Regions from separate parts of the Homo sapiens genome. Here regions 1, 3, 4, 5, 6 and 7 are each linked to region 2. Evidence: promoter capture Hi-C in 16 types of primary human blood cells and fetal thymus (Javierre and others, 2016). All regions are on one chromosome and are shown on one strand. Each heading gives the region's core, a stretch centred on a gene start or on the middle of the fragment in contact. The rest is flanking DNA. Distances are from core to core; before and after follow the strand shown.

Region 1 (3,553 bases), core at 738-3,237, 310 kb before region 2:
CAATTCCTCCTTCCTTGCAAATTTGTGAATTCAACTTGCATTATAATTCAGCCATCTCAGGACGTGGTGTTGTGTTTGGCTTTTATAAATGTCAATCCTTTGGCTACAAAAGACAAGGATTTCTTTCAGGACCACAGTAGAAGCTTTGTGGTTCAGTATTCAGATTTTGAGCTGGGAACTTAAAGTCTGAAGATCAGTTTCTTTCCTTAAGTTCTCCAGTGTACTGGAGAGCAACCAACCGACCCTAAAGTACTTAGATTCTTTGTTACTACTAAAATATTGTAGGAGAGCAGGTGCCAGGACCTTTAAAGTTTTGCATGTTATCAGTTCTTGACCCAGGTAGAAGTTAAAATAGTCATGTTGATCTTCTAGAGTTATCACTTCATCCTTACTTCTGTCCTTCTAATCTCATTCAAGTTTTACTTTTGGATACATCTATTTGGAATTATACAGAGAAGGGGGTTCTAGTTGTTAACATTCTCAACCTCAGCCAAATTGGCACATGCAATCCAACTCACCTTTGGAGACCCCAGAGACAGAGTTAAACGCTCTGTCTCAATCCTTTCACTTAACTGTTATTGTATTAGTTCATGGCATTTTTCCATGTCCACTATGTATTGTTCACCCACCTAAGTTCTCCTGCTGTCTTACCTTCCCACAATGAATTGTATTTGTTTCCTTGTTCTTCATCCCTTTTTACCTATAGAAGTAAAGGCTGTAATCCTTGTTCTTGTCATAAATACTAATATTAACTCCTATTTACTTAGAACTTACCACGAGCCAACCCTGTTCTATGTTCCTTTTATGTGATAAGCCATGTAATTTTAGAAAAACCTGATAATGTAGATTCTATTGCTATTATCCTTGTTTGGCAAGAAAGAGATGTGAAGCACAGAGGGGTTAAGTAACTTGCCCAAGGTCATCCAGCTAATAGACAACAAGCTAGGATTAGAAGCCTGGGAGGCCATGCTGGGTTCACTCTACAGTGTCTGTAGTCTCCATCATTGTGCTGTGACTGAATAGCACGGGGATGGGGAGATGGATGGAGGAGAGAAGGGAGGGTAAGGAAGGAAGAAAAAAGAGATTGGGAAGAAGCTTGAAATTTGATTAATGAGGGCCAGAATATCCTAGATGGGTATATGGTGGAGGGCTAAGAAAGGGCCCAGCATTGAGTGCCTATTGTCCTGTCTGTAGGGACAAGTCCAAGTAGACAGTTTTTCCCTATTCCACATTTAGGTGGAAAAATGTGTACTTCAGTATCCACTCCTTCCTGAAGGTCTCCAGTCTGCAGGCCTGCCCTATGGATTTTGGACCTGCAAGCCCTCATAGTAACAGAAGTCAATTATATATAAATCTGTCCATATCTCTACCTCTATCTCTAAATGTATATGTATATCTATATATCTCCTACTGGTTCATGTCCTTGCTCTAGGGAGAAAAACATTCTAGGCACATGATATTCTATTATAGATCCAGTTCTCCCAAGCTCTGGATGGGAAATGTGGTATCTGCCATGGGTGGTCTTGTTTGTCAAGTGCTGGATGCTTGGGACCAAGGGCTGGGATTCATTGCTTTCTTAAAACCACACCCTCTCACTCCCCCTGCTTCCTGGAGATGACCCACTAAAAATGGGAAGCCTGCATGGCCACACCCCTCCTCCCAATGTATGTTGGGCAGCTCTTCTGCAGAACAATCTAGCATTGCTTAATAAAATGAAGCAATCATGTGCCCTATGGCCTTCTGTGTGTACGCCCCTGAGACATTTTCCCAAGGACCATAAAAGGACATGCAGGAAGATACTTATCCAGGTATTGCTTGCAGTGACAAGGAGCAGGAGGCAGCCTAGGCATCTGATTTGAAGGAAAGGAAAGTAAAAGCAGCCATTCAAAACAAGAGATGGATGTGCATAGAACAACAGGGAAACAGTTGATACCCAGAGCTGAATGAAAGAAGTAAAACGGGGAGGAGACCTCCAGTCAGCACCAGTGATGTGAATTAGAATCAGATGCACCTCATCCTGCAATGTACATGTACATGTTCAGAGACACACATGTTAGAGATGCTTCCTATGGCTGTGAAGGAGAGGATTGGAGAGGGACTGGGGTGGAAGGGCAACACAGGAGCCAAAAGGCGAACAAGTGCTGCATGGATGATAACGAGCTGTAGACTGGAAAATTCAGTTAGCCTCACTCCTCTGCATCCAGGACAGTGCAACAAATTTCAGAGAGGTTGGAAAAGGAGAAGGAGCAGGAGAGGAGGGGAAAGAGATGTAGAAGAGAAATAAGAGGAAAAGGAGGAGGATAAAAGAGGAGAAAGAAGAGGAGAGGGAGGATGAAGAAGGAGAGGAGAAAGAAAATGAAAAGAAGAGGAGAGGGAGGAGGAGATGGGGGAAAGAAGACAAGGGAGAAAGAGGAGGAAGGAAGGAAAACTTACGTCTGCCCAGAAACCTTTACAGGATCATTCATAGCAGCTTTAATTGTAATAACCCAAAACTGGAAGAAACCATGATGCCTTTCAATGGGTAATTGTTTAAAGAAACTTTAGCATAGCCATGCCATGGAATACTATTCAGCAATGGAGAAGAACAAATTAAAAATTGGTCACAGAAAAGAAAGGGAGAGGAACTGAAATTTGGGGGAAATCTCCCATGTTCCAGGCACTTTTAAGTTTATGATTCATTCTATTTTCAAAATAATCTTACAATATCAGGTATTATGATGCCCATTTTACAGCTGTGAAAACAGGAGATCAGGGAAATAAACTGAGGCTCAGAGAGATTCCATGCTGTGTTAGTTTGCTAGGGCTGCTGAAATGAAGTAGCACAGACTTTGTTGGCTTGAACAACAGAAATTTATTTTCTCACAGTTCTGGAAGCTTGAAGTCTAAAATCAAGGTGTTGGCAGGATTGGTTTCTCCTGAGGCCTCTCTCCTTGCCTTGGAGATGGCTGTCTCCGCTCTGTGTCTTCACATGGTCTCCCTTTTGCACGTGTCTGTGTTCTAATCTCTTCTTATAATGACACCAATTATATTGGGTTAGGGCCCACCCACATGACCTTGCTTTATGCAATTGCATCTGGAAAGACCCTACCTGCAAATACACATTCTGATGAACTGGGGGTTAGGACTTCAACATAAAAACTTTGAGATGGACACAATTCAGCCCATAACAGATGGCTGAAAAGCAACAGAGCTAGAATTTGAAACCAGACATTTGGGTTAGCTCAGCCCTTTATCCACCCACAAACAAATGTTGATTGGCACCATCAGGATTTTTTTCTGGGCATGGTGCTAGTATGCACAGTGTGCAGGGCACCTGCTAGACAATCAGAGCTATAAATCGTGATTCAGAATCTGTAGTCACTTGGCCCCTTCGGGGAGATTGTAAAGCTGGTGTGCTGTACACACAAAGTGGAGATCTGACCCCTGGACCCCCGCCATCCTCACACACCTGTTGGATTTGAACGTGCTTGAGCCTCTGGACTGGCACTCTGGCTCTCTGCATGCGCTCTCGCCAAATTCCCTTAAGTCAACCACAAGTGCAAATTCTCCAAGG
Region 2 (3,378 bases), core at 640-3,139:
TTCCTGTCTATTCTGCAGGGAAGAATTGTCTAGATTATTACCACACTCTCCACAGAGAGGGTCTCAGGCCCCAAGTCTGCATTAGGGCAGCTGGAGAAACCCCTTTCAGAGAGCAGCTCAATGTGGAGACAGCGACCCAGAAGCCCAGAGGCAGCCTAGAGAGCTAGTCCGGGCAGGGTCGGTGGCAGCTAAGGACTAGGAAGTCAAGGCAGCCTCTGCTTCCACCACCCCAGCTTCTCAAGAGGATACTTGGAGGAGGGAGAGGTCCCAAAGCACAGATCATTTGACACTCTCCTCAACCTGCCCCACTCCCCACACGTGCCGTTTATTCAAGCCATCACAGAAAAAGTGATGGCAAGAAGAGAAGGGAGGGCAGTGGGAGGATGAAGCATGGATTGGGGTTCACTTGGTCAGATTGTCCAGTGTTGAACAGCTTGGGGAACTGAAAGGCAGGCACCTCCAAATGACAGTGGAACTGAAAGGCAGGCACCTCCAAATGACAGTGGCCAAGCCTCACATGCACAAAGGAGTTGCAGGGCAGAGCTCAGGAAGAGGGGGGAAGGCACAAGATGCTTTTTATGGCATCTTGGACCTTGAGAGTTCGCTGCTGACATAAGCCTTACTGGAAGCTGCCATCCTCTGCACACTGGGGCACGTAGTCTGCTTGCTTCAGAAAGGCCGTTTCCCTCTGCAGCTCACAGGGACGAAGGGGCTGGGCATCCACCTGGTACTCTAGGAAAAGAAAAGTGGTTCATCAAAGAAGAGTGTGGACTGGGCTGCCAGGACAGAGACGGGCTCTCATAAGCACAGATGCTTTTCCAGGGTCATCATCATTACCTATGACAGCCTATTTTAAAATTTGGCAGCTAAGCACACTTTCTTACAAGTATGACATTAGCTCATTTAATGTGCAACATTCTCCTAAGAGGTGACAGGCAATATATCCTTGTCACTCATGAGGCACCAAGTCTCAGGCAGCGAAAGTCGTCTGCCCAAAGTCACGTAACTGGCAAGTGAAGGATCCCAAAATCAACGCTGGGACTACACGTTCCCCGCCCGCCCCCACCCTGCCGCAATTCCCATGAGGCTATTTGGAGTAAGTTAGAGAACCGTAAGGAAGTTCTTCTTGAATCTATCAAGCCATGCCCTGCAGATGTAACATGTTCCAGATAAACATTGAAATACCAATTAATTAATAATGTACATGACTTATTTTTCCATTGAGAACTCTTGTAACACATAGGGTCCTACCCAGAAATCACAACCGCATCATGAGGTGTGTGTTATTTGTTTACTTTTTAAATGAAAAAAAAAAAAAAAAAACAGAAGCTTGGCACTTTGCCCGAAGTCATATGGGTAAGTGGCTGAGCCAAAGACAGAACTTAGGGCTATTTCACTTCATAGGTAGATTTCTTTTTCTACTGCTTCTAAAATACCTGTTATGGATGACACAGACTTTGGAATAGCTAAGGGGATAAAAACCCAAGGTCAATGCCAAAAGTTTGCCAAAATGGTGGGGTGAGGAGGACCTAGAATTGAATTAGGAAGATCAACCACATTTCCCATTTCTGCTCCATCAATCACTAGCTCTGTGACCTCAAGTAATTCAGTTCGGCTCTCTAAATCTGCCTCTTCATCTGAAAAAAAAAAAGCAAATCACTGACATGTGGGAATTTGTGAAGATTAAATTAGATCGCACCTGTTCGAAGGCCCAGGGCAGAGCCTGGCTGACACTGGAGCTCCCTCCCCACCGCCTGGCTCCATGGCCTCAGAACTTACCGAAGATATTGGCCGACACCCAGCAGATGGAGGCCAGCAGGGTGAAGATCTCCAGGACCAGGGCCATTTTCCTGGCCCTTCCTGGGAGGAAGGAGGAGAAACCACTGCTTGCCCTAGGTCCCCTGGCCAGGGAGCTTTTATAGAGCTGCCGTTGGCACTTTCCTTCCCACCCCCAGGTCCTCAGTGAGGCAGTGCCCCATCCTGTTTTCTCTGCTGGTCAAAAGGAGCTCCCTCCACCTGTGTCTACTCCTCCTGAGGGCACTCGTGTGGCCAGTGGAGCATGAGGATCTTGTCTAAACTGTGGGGGAACAGAACGGGGTGGGGTGACTTCAAAATCCTTTTTTATGGGTAAAGACCAAAGCTCTGTATCTTTGGAGGGAACAGGCTCAAGCCCACAGTGAGGGAAAAGCAATCCTTTGTTCTTTCCTTCCCCACCCTACCCTTTCTCCTTCTCCTTCCTCCTTCCTTCTTTCCTTTCTTCCTTTCTTTCTTCTTTCCTTCCTTTCTCCCTTCTATCCTTCTTTCCTTTCATTCTTCCTTCTTTCTTTCCTTCCTTCCCTCTTTCTTTTCTTTCTTCCTTCTTTCCTTCCTTCCTTCTTTTCTTTCTTCTATTCTTTCTCTAACAACCTCTTAGAGCTCCACAGTAGCAGGCACCTAATCTAGACAATGAGGATATGGCAGAGAACAAAACAGGCAAAATCGTGCCCTCATTAATATAGACTGTGAAAACTTTGGTGAGGGAAGCAAAATACACACACACTCATATTCATATTTCTATTACTTTCCTCTCTTTCCTAGGACCTCAGACTTTGTCAACCAAAAGATAGCAGGAACTGTGTATTCCACAGAAAGCCTGTATGTCCATTTGGTTTCTCCTGGCAAACATGGCTTCCTTCCTTCAGTCCTGTTCCTGTGAGACCTGGAAAAACTCACCTCATCTCCCTGAGCCCCAGCCTCCTTCTCTGGAAAGCAAAGTTAAAAGGAGAATAATAATATGTCCCTATTTGTTAAGGTAGTTGTAAGAGAATAGACATTGAAGAGCACATGCTTATTAGACACTAGCAGTTATTATTATTATTATTGATTTTCTTATTTTGCAAAAGCATCATGCCAGGGAATGGCAAGTATTCAGAAGACCAATCCAGCCAGGTAAGGAGCTAGTGACAGATAGGGTCAGGAACTGGCAGGTAATGAGGGCAGGTTGCTGAGCCTGGCACCTGAGGAGAGATGGAGGGACCTGTGAGAATCTGGAGGATATGGTCCCGGGTAGAGTGAAGGGCAGGAGGACAAGCTGGAAAGTGGAAGAGACTCCAAACCCTGGGGAAAATAAAGGGGCCGATATAGCTGCCGTGCCGTAGACTGTACTACCTTCCACAAATAGGGTTGCTATGAATATTAAATGTGTTAAAATATGCAAAGTGCTTAAAACAGTATTTGACACATAATAAGTATCCAGTGTTAGCTACTGTACTAGTCTGCTATGGGTGTCATCACAAACTATCACAGACTGGGTGGCTTAAGTAACAGAAATTTATTTTCTCATAGTTCTGAAGGCTGGAAATCCAAGATCAAAGTGTCAGCACTGTTGGTTTCTTTGGA
Region 3 (3,505 bases), core at 215-2,714, 450 kb before region 2:
TTCTCCTTCGCAGAACTGCAGCCACTGTATTATCATGGACATTTCTTCTCAAGACCTGTTTTCTACATGGGAGCTTCATGCACTGTTGCTCTGGCCCTTGCAGTGAGGCAGAGGTCCCAACACAGGGGTGGTGGGCAAAAATCTGAGGTCACAAGTTCAGGTGTGCAAGAAATATCCATTTTTCTTACTTTTTTTCAGTCCGTGGGGACTTGCAGTCCTCATTCCGCTGGCTCAGTGGGGAAATTCAGTCTCTGTCATGAGCGGACACCCAGTTCCCCTGCACCAATGTCAAGCAAAGTTTCACGGGTTGTGTTACAGAGCAGGCAGGCATTGGGGAACTCAGGGTTTCTTCAGAGCAGGGGTTGCTGCCTGGGCACCAGGCTCTCCAGAGAGGGTGGGCTGAGGACATAGCAGCCTGTCTACCTCCCTAGGGCAGGAGCAAGGGTCCCTGCTGCTAACAGAACCCCAGACCCTGCCCCCAGCTCAGGCAAAGTGTTCTTCCTTCTCCAACTTTAAGTTTCTCTCCTTCCCTTCTGGAATTCTTGATCAAATATTTTCATGCCTTAAGTTTTATCAAAACAAAAGCCAGCAATGACTGTGTCTTGCTTTAGGCCCAGTCACCCTGACCCCCAGGTAAAGTGGGCTCAAATGGCCAGGTTTCTTCCCAAGAGCCCTGCTGAAAAAAACAAAAAGAAGAACCTCACTCTCTAATATTGCAACACATTATTCTTCCCCATAGGACCGTCACTCCCAATGTGAAGAAAAGGGGGAAAGACCTGGAAAAGACATTTGCAGCAAAGGAACAGTTTTGTTAGGGCCTGTGGCCCGCAGGTTCCAGCGTGGCAGCCTCCGAATGGTACTAGTCACAATGGTGGCAGCTTCCTGAATGTCTGCTGTGCAATCATCTCCATAAGTCCTCATGAGAAGTTGGATGTTGGCATGCCCATTTCAAAGATGAGGAAACTGACGTCCCAAGAGGTTAGACAATATAGCTAAGGTCTGCAAGGATTAAACCCAGGTCTCTTTGTCTAGAAGCTTCAGTTCCTGCAGGCAGCCTGGAAACAGATGATGTAAATGAGTGTAAGGAGAGAGGCAAGGCAGCAATTTGCCTTGGGAATGGGGTGTCTCAGAAGTAAGAAGCCAAGCCCTCAGCCAGGAGATGAGTCAAATCATTCAGATGACTCCAGAAACCAAGAGACCAAGCCAGCCTGGCATCCCAAACTGCTGGCCTGTTGCTAAACACGCACACCTTCTCCAGCTTCTATTAATAATCAGCCAGGAAGCCTCCCATGGTTACTCACCTAGTGATTAAACCATGATCACTGTTTCAGAGAGAGTCCTGGCCCACCACCACCGAGGGGGCAGGGAGGAGGTGAGATCAGCAGCAATGCCCTTTCTCCCTTTGAGTAGAGGCAGTGTGGGCTGGATTGTGGTAAGACTGGATCTGCAGTCATAAGACCTGGGACCTAGAGCCAGGAACACTCTCTCTGGGTGTCAGGTTCCTCAGACTACACAGGAAGAATGTTGACTTCAAGCATTTCCCCACCAACCTTTGCATTCAGAAGACACTTGGTTGCTTAGGAAAAAGAAACCATGGAGGTTTGGGGTCATCCAGATAATGGTGGTTAGGGACACACTTGACTGACTGCCTGGGTTCCAATCCCAGCTCTACTGGACGTCTTCGGCAAATTATTTTTTTTCTGCCTCGGTATTTCCATTTATACAGTGGGGATGTTAAAAACAGTACCTTACCTTTTGGAGATGTGTTGAAGACTATGGTTATTACATACAAGTGGTTTATAACCATCCCTGGTACTTATATGCTAAATAAGTATTAGTTCTTCTCATTCGCCATGAACACTTGGTCCAGAAATTTACCTGCCTGAAGCTTAGCTTCCCCATTGGCAAAATGTGGATATAATAACTCCTACAGTTGGAGTGCTAATTGCATGAAATGATGTAGGTGAAGTCCCTGTGTAGGGTTGACATTTAGTCATGGCAAGCCCTCTCTTCTTGTTCTTTTCTTCTGAAAGGTCTTCAGGTTAACTCTGAGTTTTCATCATGGAGGGCTTCCTGGACAGGTGAGACTCAGAGAAGCCAAGAGGTGAGGAAAGTGGTGGTAACAGGAGGTGAAGACAAAGAACAGAGCCAAAGGAGGGATGAGCCTCCTCTCATTCTTGCAGAGCTTAACTAAAGTGGGCCCTGAGCCGCGGAGAGGTGTTCCAGCAAGGAAGAGTCCCCACCACATTCTGGAGGGGTGCATGGAAAAAACAGCAATAGGACCAGCATAGGGGAAAAAAGGGATTCCCCAAGAACATTTCTGATAAGACATGCTCCAGACACCATTTAATGATAGTCATTCCATATGCCTGTCCAGAGATGTTGATGGCACTGGGTCCTCCCAGAAAGAGCAGATTCTTGGGAATCAGCCAGGCCTGTTAGTCTTCCCAGCGGTGGGACCATGGGCAAGTCACTTCACCTCTCTTAGCCTCAGTTTCCTCATGTGTAAAATGGAGATTATAATACTTGCTTCACAGGGTTGTTACAAAATTCAGAAATGAAGAACGCAAAGTATCTATCACAGTACCTGGAATATAATAGATGTTCAACATATATTAGTTTATTAAAGTTAGAGTTCATAATTCTATTCCACTTCCACGTTTCTCTCATTTGCTAAGCCTTTGTCAGCTGAGGCTCAGAGAGGGGAGTGACTTAGCCCAGTTCCCGGTAGCTGCTTATTAGCACAACCAAGGACTTTGCAATGAGGTCAGGTTTGGCTTCAAGTCTGGGAGCTGATAAATGGTTCCAGACGTGGAGTGGGGAAGAGAAAGGGTGGGGTGGGATTTTTATTACTTATGGGTGGACATAGAGACAGGACAAGCTCTTGAGATTATATATTTTAATAATAGGATCTCTCACTGGTAATTCCTGGAGGACAAATATAATTACATGACATAAATGATGTCATCTCATCAACAGAAAAGATATGCAAATGCATCAAGACAATGAGATACTTTCACCTATCAGATGAGCAAACATCCACCAAGCTGAAGGCCTGGTGAGACCCAACCCTCCTACTGCTTGTAAAAAGGCGGCCAGGCGCGGTGGCTCACGCCTGTAATCCCAGCACTTTGGGAGGCTGAGGCGGGCGGATCACGAGGTCAGGAGATCGAGACCATTCTGGCTAGCACGGTGAAACCCGTCTCTACTAAAAAAACACAAAAAATTAGCCGGGCATGGTGGTGGGCGCCTGTAGTCCCAGCTACTCAGGAGGCTGAGCCAGGAGAATGGCGTGAACCCGGGAGGCGGAGCTTGCAGTGAGCCGAGATCTCGCCACTGCACTCCCGCCTGGGTGACAGAGCGAGACTCTGTCTCAAAAAAAAAAGGCAACTCGCAACAATGTATCAAAAGCCTTAAAAAATGTGTACACCCTTTGAACCAGAGATTTCCCTTCTATGACTTTACCCCCAAAAAATCATTGAGAGACACAAGTAAGTATGCGGAA
Region 4 (3,402 bases), core at 389-2,888, 480 kb before region 2:
TGTGAGAAATGAGTGCCTGTTCTTTAAGCCACCCAGTCTGTGGTATTTGTTTATGGCAGCCCGGGCAGACTAAGCTGGGGAGGATAAAGCCCACAACTGGCTGTCAGGAGACTGAGTTTACATCCCTATTCTGCTATGGTGACACTAGGCAAGGGTTTCCCTTCTCTGGGCCTCAGTTTCCCCATCTGTAAAGAAGAGACAATAAACCTTCCCTCTAAGCGTTTATGCCCTGATTGTAGAAGATTTCTTCACCTCAGCTGTTCAGTGCTGAGGGTCTGGAGAAGTTTTCTTTCCAGCAAAAGATGGATCCTGCACTTTTCAGGCTTGCAGCTGCTTGGAGACACCCCCAGACCACAGTGGTAGGGGACAGGGAGGCAGATTCAGGCAGAAATCTCACACAGCACTTTTTCCAAGTACCTGGGGTCATCGCTAGGGCTGAGTCGTGCAGGTCTGGGGAAGCATGGGACCTACCCGTCCCCTCCCTGGTTAAATATTTGCCAGCTTTGGCCCCGTCTCCAGAGGAGTTCGACCAACCAGCCTAGCGAATCCATCTGGATATGGCCTTGTGCGCACGAGGGCTTAGGGCTTAGGTAGCACCTTTGTTATTTGAGCTTTTATTTAACTAGAAGAGAAAAAAAGCAGATACTGGTTCTTTCCCTCCCATATCCCCCACCTCACTGCCCAGCTGACCTTGGCTCCTCTCAGGCCCAAGGTTGACCAGGGCTGGCCAGGCAGCCCCTGCAGAGGAAAGAGCAGCAGTTTTTTGCTTGTTTGTTTGTTTTGTTTTTGAGACAGAGTCTTGCTTTGTAACCCAGGCTGGGGTGCAGTGGCGCAACCTTGGCTCACTGCAACCTCCGCCTCCCAGGTTCAAATGATTCTCATGCCTCAGCCTTCCATGTGTCAGGTGTGTGCCACCACACCACACCCGACTAATTTTTTGCATTTTTAGTAGATACAGGGTTTCACCATGTTGGTCAGGCTGGCCTCAGACTCCTGGCCTTAAGTTATCCACCTGCCTCAGCCTCCCAAAGTGCTGGGATTTCAGGCATGAGCCAGCACACCCAGCCAAGAACAGCAGGTTCTCATGCAGAGAATGCTGGGTCAAAATTCTTGCTCTGCCCCTGGGTTCATGCATCTTTGACAATTCCCTTCACTTCTCTGGGCATTGCCCCACCCTGAGCTAATGGAGGCTCCAGGCGAGAGCCCTTAGGTCTCAATCCTCCCCCTCTGCCCTACCATATCTCACCCTTTCCCCTGCTCTGCCATGCTAACTGCAGCTCTGATGGGCTGCTCTTCCCCTTCTCAGCTTTTGAGTTTCTGTCTTAGTTGCATCTGCCCCTTCCTGATTGTCTGATGGTAGTGGCTGGACTCAGCATCAGGCATCTGGGTGCAGATCCCATCTGCATCATTTTCTTGTTAGGAAAAATTACCCCACCTCTGTCAACCTTGATACTCTGTCTGTAAAATGAGGGCTGAGAATTAAATCTTGTTGGAGTTCTTAGGAGAATAAAGATGATGGTGTATATGCTGTATTTTCATGAGCAGGAACCTAAAGACCAGCACTTCTATTAATTAGACCATCCTGTCCCCCTGCCCCCTTCCTTCCCTTCCCTCACACTAGGTTGGTTAAGATGCTGACCCCTTATTCCCCCAGTGCCATACCTGGCTCTGCAAAGCACACACCACTGTGGGCATTTAGCGTCATGCTTGTTTGTGTTTGGCCAGAAGTGTCTAGAGGGCAGAGACCAGGTCTCACTTATTTTCCAACCCCCAGGTCAGCAAGCACTTGATCAGAGCATTTCTTGAGTGAGTGAATGCATGGGTGAATGAATAAATGAATTGCCAATGACCTTTTCTGCCCTGTGAGGAAATGCTCTTGGTCTTCACCAATCAATAGTGATCTATGTCCCAGTTTCTAAGTCGTGCCCTAGAAAACGATTGCCGGGCTTCAAATGCACGATATAGTGTTGAGTAGACTGGATGTTGGCAGGGTAGGGAAGGGAGGTCACAGAGGTGGTGTGGGCCAGCCTTGGCACCCTGGATGCTTCCCGTGGTGGGAGAGGAACATCACACACACATGTCTTTTCACACCCACATGTCTTTTCTTTCTGCCCACCCTACTAGTGGACTTATGGCACTTCCAGCCAGAGTTGGCCCTGTCCCTTGGAGAGGTTCCTTAAATTACATCTGAGGGCCACCCCGCATATGTTTGTGTGAATCACAAGACCTAGAGTTCAGATCCCATGAGAGAGAATACTATACCTAGGCCACCGACCCACTTTGAAGCTCAGCTCTGGAATGGGCCAGCACCCTGTAGTACCACAAGGTCGACTGGCATCTTCTTAAGGAGCTTAATAAAATTCTAAATTACTAAAATAATAAGAGGATTCCAGGAGATTATATCTAAAAGCACAAACAGCATCACAGAAGTTTCCAATCAGATTTGTTTTTCTATTTACTCTTTCCACTTGAATTTGTACAACCCATATTTCCCAAGGGTCTACTAGGAGCCAGGCACTGAGCTGTGCTCTGAAGATACACAGCCCAGTGAGACTCAGCCCCTTGGTGGCCAAGATACCTCTTAGGGGAGAGGGGGATGCTGCTGAGGCCAGCCCAGAGAGAAGAGCTGCCCTGGGGCTCCTGCCCTGAGTCTTCTGAGTTACTGGGTCCCCCTTGGGGCCAAGCTCTGGGCCATGAGCTACAGCTTTTGTCTCCTGAGTTCCCACAGTTACTTCACAAGGTTGAGAGCAAATGAATCTTCTCCATGAGGAAAATGAGGCTCAGAGAGGTTAAATAACACACCCAGCTTCACACAGCAAACCCATGGCTAAGTCACCAGGAGCTCAGATCCTGGCCAGTTTAACTCCAAATTCCATGTTCTTAACCCCAATATATGTGGCCCAGAGAGGACAGAAGTGTTGAGTGAGGGAGGGGTCATTTATTGGTCCTCTCAGGTCTGGAGAAAATTTCACAAGAAAGTGGGGCAGAGGGCAGGAATCTTATACCATTCCCAGTCCATACAACATTCTGAGTATGTTGGTGTTTCTGTTGACATTTTTTGGAGGACAGTTTGGTGTGGGAGTTTGACATAAGACAGTTTTTGGTCTGAGCGTCTGCTCTGCCATTTTCTAATAGGATGACCTTGGACAGGTGACTTAATCTGTTCTAACCTCACCTTCTTCACCTGTAATGTTTAATGATAAGGATTCCTAAACGCTGGGAATGTGTCACAGATTAACTGCTATATTAGTTTGCTTGTGCTGCCGTAAGACATAACACAGACCTAAACAACAGAAATTTGTTTATTTTCTCACAATTCTGGAGGCTGGAAGTCCAAAATGAAGGCTTTGGCAGGGTGACCTTCTTCTGAGGCCTCTCATCGTGGCTTGCAGATGGGCTGCT
Region 5 (3,619 bases), core at 55-2,554, 500 kb before region 2:
TCTTTTCCTCCTTCCTCCTCCTCCTGCTTCCTCTTCTCTTCCCTCCTCCCTGTCCCCAACTTTCCCAGGCTATGGCAATCCCCTGCCCCTCTCCCTCAGCATGTTCCCCTCCTGCCTATGCCCCCAACCTGTGGTTTGGAAACTGTCAGCCTCAACCTAGTTGTGGCTAGGAAAAGTCTGGCTAATAGACACAAAAATGGTTTTTAAAATATTTTAAAGTGAGGACAGCCCGCTAGGGAGATGAGGCAGAAACCTAAATGACTGTGACCCAGGGCAGAGCGAGATAAGGTCTGAAAGATAACAGATTTGCCTCTCAAGTCAAGGTCTTGGACTTTGGGCAGCTCCACATCAGGGGAATGGAGACATAAACAGGTAATTAATGGTGGTTTTCCAAAAGGCCATAATAGAGCCACGTGCAAGGTCTGCAGGAGCTGAGGGGAAACCTAAAACTCTGCTAGGACCTACAGGAAGCCCTCTCAGGGAGGACCCTGTGAACTGGGGCCTGCAGGAAATGCTGGAGCTTGAACAGCCAGGAAGGACACTCCAGGAGCAGCACCATGGGATGCACGGATATGTCTGGAAATGGCCCAGGCACCATGTCTGTGGAACCGAGAGGCTTGGACTTCATACTTTTTGCTGCTGCATACTTTCCGGGTGGCCCTGGACACACTACCTCTGTGTCTATACAACTGGGGAGGATAATAGCCCCCTCAAAGCTACTGCTGTAATAAGGGCATGGGGGCTGAGTGTGAGGCGTGCGTGCATGCAGGTGAACGTGTGGCCACAAGGGTGTCTACATTTTCAGTGGGACCAGCTGTCTCCCTGCAAAGGAGCAAGTTGCTAATACCAGGGCCTCCTGGCCTGTGGGATGCCAGCAGAGATACCCTATAATGTCAGAACTTTCCAGAGCTCTCAGACCTCTTCATGTCTTAAGGAATGATGACAGTTAGCATTTATTGAGCACTTCCAGTATAGAGGGAACTTTGCATGCCTTATCTCTGACCCTCACAGTAACTCTGAATTCTCACTTTGTAGATGAGGCACAGAGATAAGCTATGTGTCCCAGGTTGCACAGCTGGCGAGAGACAGAGCTGGGAGTGGAAGCCAGCCCCGTCTTTGCCTGGCACCCAGGGGCACTCAGCGAATGCTTGCAGACTGATTGGCAGTGAATAAACAAGGAGGTAGACACCGAATTCGGGCATTAGACCCTGTGAGGTTGGAGACTGGAGGTTGGCTGGTCCCAATTCTCCCTGACCATCTCTATCTTTCCACGGTCGATCCTTGATTACCTTTAGTGATGGGAGACTCAGTCTGGAAACCTACTTCCAGGCCTGGTGGGACCTGAGGGACCTTGAGGGAGGTCCCTTTCCTTTCGCATCTGAGGCACTGTGGTGAAGATCACTCCAGTTATCGGGCCCTGCCCTACTGGAATCTGGGTGTGAGCAAACATGTTATTGTGGGCAGGGTACCTATGGCCGAGGTTATCAAGTCAGCAGCCTGCTTTGGCCCTGGAAAGTGGGTCATGGGAGGAAGGAGAAAGTGCCTTTTGTTTCCTTGCAGGTAGGGTGGAGCAGGGAGGGGAGGGTGCAAAGTGCTGAGAGGCGGGTGCAGGGCGCTCATGTGCAGTGTGAGGGGCAGGCAGAGGGGCCTCCGCTGGGTGCTCAGGTGGCCAAAGGCTTGGGGTTGGGGGATGGTTCAGAGAAAGATGCCCCTGTCTCTGCCTGGCATGGAAACTTCTACAAGCTCCCTGCTATAGGGAGGAGGCCAACTTCCTCGCCTCTCTTCCTCTCCTTCTGCTCCTTCCCGTCTTACTTTCTCACTCTGGCAAAACCGAAATTCTGTGCCTCTTTACCCCCACACCACAGGCATGGGGCTTCCTGTTCCCACTCCAGCTGTTGGGCTGCCTGGGACACGTCCTCTCCCCTTCTGCCCCTGGTTAGTCCTCCTCTGTCTGCCACTTCCTCCAGGAAGGAACCCGGGCCTCCTCTGAGCCTCCCCATCCCCTTGGGCCTCCATCTGTCAGAACTTTGGCTCCCTGCAACTGAACTGAAGTGTGTGTGATGTCTCCCTCCCTGCGGGCTGCATCTCTCTTCCTAGGGGCGGGGCTGGGCTGCCCCAGTTCTCTCTGAATGTCCAGTCCCTAGCCAGTGCTAGGGAACCACTGCCAAAGTAACCCATGGACACAGAGAGCAGGGGGTCTCCATGGCTCCCACTGGGGAAGTGGTCCCTTCACCACAGGGACCAAGACACACGTGTCCAAGAACCGTGGAGTCTCCTTGCAAACTGTGGGAACTGGCCTCAGCTGGCCCATATGGCATGAGAAGAAAACCAGCAGGGGAATCACTGAGTTCAGGGAGCCTGTGCCAGTTTCCTGGGTTTTCCCGGCAGTGCTGTGTTTCTTGTTTAAGGCTAGAGTTTAAGGCCCAACAGCTGTGAAGTGGGAGGAAGTTGAAACCAGCTTGGCAGAGGAGATTCTACATTGCCATGGGGCAGGGGGAAGCCTCATGATGAGGACCCCTTGGACTCAAACCCTGCCCATTTGCCTGTGGTTGCTGGGCAGAATGGGACCCAGGGGACATTGCCGAACATATGGCATCAAGGAAGTTGTACTTTATGCAGCAGTTAATTTATAACTGGTTATGTCGAAGTCTTGTGTAATCAAAATTACCCTTGGGAAGCTTGTAAGGTGCCCATGCCATGCAGCTGGGGGAAACCATGCCATGCAGGGATTGCCCATGTCTGTTCTTATTGCCTCATGACTACCTCTCTGGGCCAGGCTGCCATCTTCCCATGCCTAGGGTACTGCAATCGCCTCATACTTTGAGTCTTCCTGCCTCTTCTCTTTTGTCTATTTCCTGATTGTAGCATGGAAATTCCCATATGCCAGGAATCGTCTCCATCTGGTACAAACTGGGTCAGCTGGTTACTCTACACTACATCTTCTCAGGGTTAAAACCAAGTCCTTTCATAGCCCCTAAGACCCCAAATGCACTGATGCCATCAATGCCCCATGGCCAACCTAGACCCTCTCCAACCTCACCTCCATACCTTTGGCCTCACATCTTCTGCTCCAGCCCCACTGGACTCCCTGCTGGTCCTCAGTTATGCCAAGTATGTTTCTGACTCAGGGCTTTTTGCACCTGCTATTCCCTTTGCCAAGAATTTTGTTATTTTTTGAGATGGAGTCTCACTCTCTTGACCAGGCTGGAGTGCAGTGGTGCAATCTTGGCTCACTGCAACCTCTGCCTGCTGGGTTCAAGCGATTCTCCTGCCTCAGCCTCCCACGTAGTTGGAACTACAGGTGCATACCACCACACCCAGCTAATTTTTTTTTTTGGTTCTTGTATTTTTTTACAAGAGATGGGATTTCGCCATGTTGGCCAGGCTGGTCTTGAAATCCTGACCTCAAGTGATCCACCCACTTTGGCCTCCCAAAGTGCTGGGAATACAGGCATGAGCCACCATGCCCAGCCTGCCTAGAATTCTTTCCTCCCACATATCCATATTGCTATCTCCCTTACTTTTTTCTGGCCTTGCTTTATGTGCACCTTTATCAGTGAGGCCCCCCCCTATATAAAAGAGTGCCCCTCTGTGTGAAGGATAGTTTCCAACAATGGCT
Region 6 (3,578 bases), core at 845-3,344, 350 kb before region 2:
TCCCGCATCTAGAAGATAGTAAGTGCTCTCTAACTATCTGAAAAACGGAAAATGGTGGTGAGCTCGAGACCAAAGCAGGTTAAAAGCTGTTAAGACAGAACTGCCCACAGAAAGATGGAACAAGATGCAGTGGAGAGGAGGCCTGTCCCATCCAAACACACATGTGCATGAGGAGAGGAGGGAACAGGCAGACAGGGAAGGGATGGAAAGACAGATGGAAGCTCAGAGAAAAGAGAGAGAAAGAAGGAGAGGAGGAGAGAGAAAAAGCGTGTGTGTGTGTGAGAGAGAGAAAGAAACAGGAGGAAGGTAATAAAAGTAATAAAAAGAATGAAGGGAGGGAAAGAGAGGCAAAAAGATAAACACAGAAAAGAAGAGAAATCTAACTAGGATTAGAAGGATAAAGAGGAAAGGTAAGTCAGTTCCTCTAAGCTTATAGGTGTGCTGGGAACATTGATGAATGAATGCAGGAATCACTGAGTGAGAGAGGGAAAGACCTGAAATGGGAGGCATCCAAGGACAGGAGGGGCAGGGCTGACAGGAGCTGGAGCTGCAAGCATCTTGGGAGGTGGTGGGGAGGGAATTGCCCAGGAGGATAAAGAGGCTTTGGTTTTTGGGTCACCTCGGCTAGGCAGGGGCTCCGCTTGTGCTCGGTCAGAACAGGGTCACTGGGCCAGACACAATGGCAGACAGCTTCTGCCTCCCTGCTCCCCCCGTGACCCTCGTGTGGCCCTCCTGGGGAGGTGGTGGTGGGAGAGCTGCCTTGCTGCCCTGGGGCTGCTGGGGACAAAGCTTTCCTCCACGCCTCCTCCTATCCTCACAGGACTGCTTCTCCACCGAGCAATTTTGTCTCCTAGGGTGTATTTGGAAAGGTCTGGAGATGATTTTGGTTGTCACATCTCTGAGGGAGCGGGCGCTTCTGGCATCTAGTGGGTAGAGGCCAGGGATTAGATTGCTGGGATTTAGTAGTCATGCATTAGATTGCTACTAAACATCCTCCAGTGCACATGACAACCCCACCACAAAGAATTCCTTCATCCAAGATGTTGACAGTGCCGAGCTTGAGAAACCTGCCCCACACCGTCCCTGAGCAATCTTTAGCATATATAATTTTTTTTAAAAAAACTACCAATACTCTTAGAACTCCCACTCTATTGCCATTTTTCTACTGCTCTCTACTGCTTGCCTCGTAAGCACTTTCCTCTAGAAATGTCCTCATCTGCTGCCTGCCATGGCATCAGATGCTCCTGGTTTTCTTCATACATCCCAACCCTCCTCTCTGTTTCCCCATGCCTCCTCTTATTCTGCTCACCCTTCACATGTCAGCATTCCCAGACCTCTGCCTCAGGCCCCCTCTGTCTCACTGTGGATGTTACCCTCAGGCCATCCCAGCCATCACCACCAGCAGCTCCAAGCAGATGACTTCAGAGCTCTCCTATTTCGTCTCCTTCCTCCCCATAAAGAGAAACTGGAAGCTTCTCTTAAGATCCCGTGGGCAGGGCACTCTGCCTTAAACTCAGTCTGTTTCAAACAGAGTAGATCTCCCTTGGCCCAAATGTGCTCCTTCTCTTGTATTTGATCCTAGGCAATGACAAGCCCTGGGAGTCAGCCTCTGTCCCTCTTTCTTCTTCACCCCATGCATTAGATTGACATTAAGACCTTCAGTCTTACTCAAGCAATGCCTCTTGTGTCTGTTCCTTCTTCACTGCCTCTACTCCCACTGCCCTAGTTCAGATCCTCATTAGCCCATCCATCTATCCACCTACCCACCCATTCATCCATCCATCCATCCTCCATCCATCCATCCATTAATTGATCCATCCATCATTCACCTATTTGTCCGTCATCTATCCATCCAATCATCCATTTATTTATACATCTATCTACCTATTCATCCACCCATCCATTCAGTTCATCCATTCATCCATCCATCCATCCATTCATCCATCCATCTGTCCCCTCGTCTACTTATTTATACATCTATCCATCCATCCATCCATCCATCCTCCATCCATCCATTAATTGACCCATCCATCATTCACCTATTTGTCCATCATCTATCCATCCAATCATCCAATTTTTTATAAATCCATCTATCTATTCATCCATCTGTCCATTTATCAATTCATCCATCCATCCATTCATCCATCCACCTGTCCACTCATCTAGTTATTTATACATATATCCATCCATCCATCCATTCATACATTCATCTGTCTATTCATCTATCCACCCATCTACTCACCCATCTATCTATTTATACACCTATCCATCAATTCATCTATCCACTCATCAATCCACCCATCTATTCATACATCCATTTATCCATCCATCTATTAATCCACCCATTCATTCATCATCCTTCCATCCATCCATCATCCACCTATTCATCCGTCATCTATCCATCCACTCATCTATTTATACATTCATCTATTTATCCATCCATCTCTTCACCAATCCATCCATCCATCCATCCACCCGCCCATCTATCTATTCTTCATCCATCCATCTGCCCACCCATCAGTATGACAAACATTAATTGGATACCTGCTAAGTGTATGGCACTGGGCTAGATTCCAGTAAGCAGCAGTGAAACAATTGGGCCTGTCCCCACTCTTCTTTTCCAGGGCTTCCTCTTATCTGGTTTACCTGGCTGAAATCTCACCTGCCCACCCATCTTCATAGCAAGGGGGAAGCCCCAAATCATCATGAAGCTTCTACTAGACCCATCTCCTCTTGCTCATACCTCCTCTCCTCAGGTACCCACATACCTACCCTTCTTCCACCACCCATCCCTAACTCTTTAGTAGGATAATAATGGATTGCACTTTTAGGGCTTTGTTCTTTACAAAGCACTCCTCATTTTATGCTGGGAGGATCCCACAGGACAGACTAGACAGATGGGATTATTTCTGTTTTACAGATGGGGAAATAGGGTCTCAGGGGAGGTATGACTTTCTCAAGGTCACAAAGCTAGTAGGTAGTGGACTGGGGAATGAGTCATTCTATGGTGGTCAGAGTTCCAGGAGGGTCCACAACCCATTTGTAGGGTCCCACCCCCAGCCCACTCGGGCCCACACCCACCGAAGGCTCCTGTGTCACGGGGTGCGGTCTTGCGTGGCCTCTTGGCGTCGTCCTCACATACCCACTGCTCACAGCAGTGGCCAGGTATGCTCACGCGCCGCGGGTGGGGGCACCAGAGACGCGGGGGGCGCACTCGGAGGCACAGTGGTGTGCAGCCCACCGCGCCGTCGATGCACGTGCAGTTGTACTTGCAGTTAGGCTGGAAGGACTGGCCGTTGTTGTAGCGCACCCCATCCAGGACGCAGCCCACACCGACCACCTCTGCAAACACAGGTGGCCGGTCAGGCCCAGTGGCCTTGGTGCCCCTGGCTGGCCCAGCTGCCTTTATAGGGGCTCCATGTGGACCATGCCCCAATCCCGGGGATGGCTCCCAGCATGGAGGAGGAACAGAGGCACAAAGGCAAAGGCAGGGAGGTGTGAGAGTGCACAGGGCAGGGCTGAGTGTTTGGTGGAACTTCAGCAAAGGGAGTGCAGGAGTTCCTTTATAGCTTCAGCCA
Region 7 (3,398 bases), core at 111-2,610, 370 kb before region 2:
ACCCTATTTCCAAATAAGGTTCCCTTCTGAAGTTTCAGGTAGGTGTGAATCTTCCGGGACACTGTCCCACCCGGTACAGGTGGGCAGGATTGTTCCTCCTCATTCCACCCCATCAGCACGTGCTACCCCATCAGCATGTGCCACTTGCACGTGCCATGTGCAAGAGCATTTGAGGTCTCAGAGAAGATCCCAAAGAATAGACAGCGCCCTTGTTAGCACCTGGGCTGACAGGCTTCTTTGGGAGAGATGACAACGAATAGCCATGCCGGGAACTTGCCGTGTGGCCCCTCTCCCTTTCCCCACCTGTGATGTGCAGGGCCACTGACCCCAGGTGTCCTCCCTGCTCCAGTGATCATGGACAGCATGGGGTCATGGGCGTACACACAGGTGCTGATACCAGGGGTCAGTATTTAACATACTTGCTTTACAGATGGGAACAGGGAGGCTCAGGGGGACACTCTCAAAATTACACAGCTTTTAACAGGTGGCAGAATTGGGGTTCAGACCCAGATCTGGGTTCAAGTCACTCATGGTGTGATTGCGGCAGTTCCTTCCCGCATCTGGGCCTTGCCATCTCTCTCTCCGAGTGGACATGGAGAGGACGGGGGCCCAGCAGCTGGATGGCTGCAGGGATCAAGTCTTCTCTGGGGCTGGCACGTAGAAGAGCATGTGGCTGGTGGACGGGCATGCCTGGCTCCTCACCTGGCAGTCTCCTGCCCTCTAACCGGCTGTCTCTTGTTCCCCTAGTGCCCTCGGCTAGCATGACCCGCCTGATGCGGTCCCGCACAGCCTCTGGTTCCAGCGTCACTTCTCTGGATGGCACCCGCAGCCGCTCCCACACCAGCGAGGGCACCCGAAGCCGCTCCCACACCAGCGAGGGCACCCGCAGCCGCTCGCACACCAGCGAGGGGGCCCACCTGGACATCACCCCCAACTCGGGTGCTGCTGGGAACAGCGCCGGGCCCAAGTCCATGGAGGTCTCCTGCTAGGCGGCCTGCCCAGCTGCCGCCCCCGGACTCTGATCTCTGTAGTGGCCCCCTCCTCCCCGGCCCCTTTTCGCCCCCTGCCTGCCATACTGCGCCTAACTCGGTATTAATCCAAAGCTTATTTTGTAAGAGTGAGCTCTGGTGGAGACAAATGAGGTCTATTACGTGGGTGCCCTCTCCAAAGGCGGGGTGGCGGTGGACCAAAGGAAGGAAGCAAGCATCTCCGCATCGCATCCTCTTCCATTAACCAGTGGCCGGTTGCCACTCTCCTCCCCTCCCTCAGAGACACCAAACTGCCAAAAACAAGACGCGTAGCAGCACACACTTCACAAAGCCAAGCCTAGGCCGCCCTGAGCATCCTGGTTCAAACGGGTGCCTGGTCAGAAGGCCAGCCGCCCACTTCCCGTTTCCTCTTTAACTGAGGAGAAGCTGATCCAGTTTCCGGAAACAAAATCCTTTTCTCATTTGGGGAGGGGGGTAATAGTGACATGCAGGCACCTCTTTTAAACAGGCAAAACAGGAAGGGGGAAAAGGTGGGATTCATGTCGAGGCTAGAGGCATTTGGAACAACAAATCTACGTAGTTAACTTGAAGAAACCGATTTTTAAAGTTGGTGCATCTAGAAAGCTTTGAATGCAGAAGCAAACAAGCTTGATTTTTCTAGCATCCTCTTAATGTGCAGCAAAAGCAGGCGACAAAATCTCCTGGCTTTACAGACAAAAATATTTCAGCAAACGTTGGGCATCATGGTTTTTGAAGGCTTTAGTTCTGCTTTCTGCCTCTCCTCCACAGCCCCAACCTCCCACCCCTGATACATGAGCCAGTGATTATTCTTGTTCAGGGAGAAGATCATTTAGATTTGTTTTGCATTCCTTAGAATGGAGGGCAACATTCCACAGCTGCCCTGGCTGTGATGAGTGTCCTTGCAGGGGCCGGAGTAGGAGCACTGGGGTGGGGGTGGAATTGGGGTTACTCGATGTAAGGGATTCCTTGTTGTTGTGTTGAGATCCAGTGCAGTTGTGATTTCTGTGGATCCCAGCTTGGTTCCAGGAATTTTGTGTGATTGGCTTAAATCCAGTTTTCAATCTTCGACAGCTGGGCTGGAACGTGAACTCAGTAGCTGAACCTGTCTGACCCGGTCACGTTCTTGGATCCTCAGAACTCTTTGCTCTTGTCGGGGTGGGGGTGGGAACTCACGTGGGGAGCGGTGGCTGAGAAAATGTAAGGATTCTGGAATACATATTCCATGGGACTTTCCTTCCCTCTCCTGCTTCCTCTTTTCCTGCTCCCTAACCTTTCGCCGAATGGGGCAGCACCACTGACGTTTCTGGGCGGCCAGTGCGGCTGCCAGGTTCCTGTACTACTGCCTTGTACTTTTCATTTTGGCTCACCGTGGATTTTCTCATAGGAAGTTTGGTCAGAGTGAATTGAATATTGTAAGTCAGCCACTGGGACCCGAGGATTTCTGGGACCCCGCAGTTGGGAGGAGGAAGTAGTCCAGCCTTCCAGGTGGCGTGAGAGGCAATGACTCGTTACCTGCCGCCCATCACCTTGGAGGCCTTCCCTGGCCTTGAGTAGAAAAGTCGGGGATCGGGGCAAGAGAGGCTGAGTACGGATGGGAAACTATTGTGCACAAGTCTTTCCAGAGGAGTTTCTTAATGAGATATTTGTATTTATTTCCAGACCAATAAATTTGTAACTTTGCAGCGGCTTGTGTCTTTTTTCTGTCCCTGAGAGATTGTGTGTGTGAAACATTGCAGTGCAGGGATGGCTGTTTCACTGGGGGGTTGCCCGTCCTTGACACCTAGGGGACCCCAGCCCCTCATCTCTGGAATTCTTTCCTCGGAGCATCACGTCCAGCAGAAATTTAAGTCAGCTCATATGTTAATTCTAATTTCCCAGTGGCCACATTTTCAAAAGTGGAAAGAAACAGATGAAATTAATTTTAATAATACATTTCATTTATCTCAAGACGTCTAAAATATTACCACTTCTATAAAAACTATTGACCAGGTATTTTGCATTCTTTTTTCATTCTAGGAACTCTAGTGTGTTTCACACTCGCAATGCATTCAGACCAGCTGCATTTCAATTGCCCAGTAGCTTGGGCAGCACAATGATGAGGATAAAAAACTTTCCAACCTATAATTCGAGGAAAACAGCTTTTTTATTTTTAATATTTATTTTTATTTTTTGAAACGTAGTCTCACTTTGTCACCCAGGCTCAAGTGCAGTGGCACAATCTTCGCTAATTGCAACCTCCGCCTCCCAGGTTCAAGCAGTTCTCGTGCCTTAGCCTGCTGAGTAGCTGGGATTACAGGCATGCGCCACCATGCCCAGATAATTTATTTTTATTTTTATTTTTAGTAGAGATGGGGTTTTTGCCATGGCCAGGCTGGTCTCGAACTCCTG

The links. The method cuts DNA at HindIII sites, captures the fragments that hold promoters and counts their contacts. A CHiCAGO score of 5 or more calls a contact.
Region 1: a fragment that was not itself captured here is called in contact with the fragment with the promoter of TG in region 2 in 12 of 17 cell types (activated CD4 T cells, naive CD4 T cells, naive CD8 T cells and 9 more); the score reaches 9.1 in activated CD4 T cells.
Region 3: a contact is called between a fragment that was not itself captured here and the fragment with the promoter of TG in region 2, in 1 of 17 cell types (activated CD4 T cells). The highest score is 5.4, in activated CD4 T cells.
Region 4: a contact is called between a fragment that was not itself captured here and the fragment with the promoter of TG in region 2, in 2 of 17 cell types (activated CD4 T cells and naive B cells). The highest score is 5.1, in activated CD4 T cells.
Region 5: a fragment that was not itself captured here is called in contact with the fragment with the promoter of TG in region 2 in 5 of 17 cell types (non-activated CD4 T cells, naive CD4 T cells, monocytes and 2 more); the score reaches 6.8 in non-activated CD4 T cells.
Region 6: a fragment that was not itself captured here is called in contact with the fragment with the promoter of TG in region 2 in 15 of 17 cell types (activated CD4 T cells, total CD8 T cells, naive CD4 T cells and 12 more); the score reaches 15.7 in activated CD4 T cells.
Region 7: a fragment that was not itself captured here is called in contact with the fragment with the promoter of TG in region 2 in 6 of 17 cell types (naive B cells, total CD8 T cells, activated CD4 T cells and 3 more); the score reaches 7.2 in naive B cells.

The regions. Positions count from the first base shown.
Region 1 is chr8:133,176,485-133,180,037 of GRCh38, reverse strand. No RefSeq gene overlaps it. Among named protein-coding and RNA genes, the nearest start is that of CCN4, 13 kb to the left of the region's middle. The HindIII fragment of the contact is 1,779 bases long and covers 1,098-2,876 here.
Region 2 is chr8:132,865,469-132,868,846 of GRCh38, reverse strand. It overlaps TG (thyroglobulin), which reads right to left and starts at 1,889. Exons shown (of 48, transcript NM_003235.5): 1 at 1,780-1,889; 2 at 624-732. The coding sequence starts at 1,846. The HindIII fragment of the contact is 3,355 bases long and covers 1,332-3,378 here.
Region 3 is chr8:133,318,517-133,322,021 of GRCh38, reverse strand. No RefSeq gene overlaps it. Among named protein-coding and RNA genes, the nearest start is that of NDRG1, 23 kb to the right of the region's middle. The HindIII fragment of the contact is 853 bases long and covers 1,038-1,890 here.
Region 4 is chr8:133,347,786-133,351,187 of GRCh38, reverse strand. The region is part of intron 2 of LOC105375771 (a long non-coding RNA gene); the gene reads left to right. Among named protein-coding and RNA genes, the nearest start is that of NDRG1, 52 kb to the right of the region's middle. The HindIII fragment of the contact is 8,125 bases long and covers 1-3,402 here.
Region 5 is chr8:133,368,019-133,371,637 of GRCh38, reverse strand. The region is part of intron 1 of LOC105375771 (a long non-coding RNA gene); the gene reads left to right. Among named protein-coding and RNA genes, the nearest start is that of NDRG1, 73 kb to the right of the region's middle. The HindIII fragment of the contact is 2,753 bases long and covers 1-2,680 here.
Region 6 is chr8:133,220,345-133,223,922 of GRCh38, reverse strand. It overlaps CCN4 (cellular communication network factor 4), which reads right to left. Exons shown (of 5, transcript NM_003882.4): 3 at 3,082-3,342. Among named protein-coding and RNA genes, the nearest start is that of CCN4, 31 kb to the right of the region's middle. RefSeq lists an enhancer at 684-1,185. The HindIII fragment of the contact is 1,239 bases long and covers 1,475-2,713 here.
Region 7 is chr8:133,236,469-133,239,866 of GRCh38, reverse strand. It overlaps NDRG1 (N-myc downstream regulated 1), which reads left to right. Exons shown (of 16, transcript NM_006096.4): 16 at 748-2,692. The coding sequence ends at 989. Among named protein-coding and RNA genes, the nearest start is that of CCN4, 47 kb to the right of the region's middle. The HindIII fragment of the contact is 510 bases long and covers 1,106-1,615 here.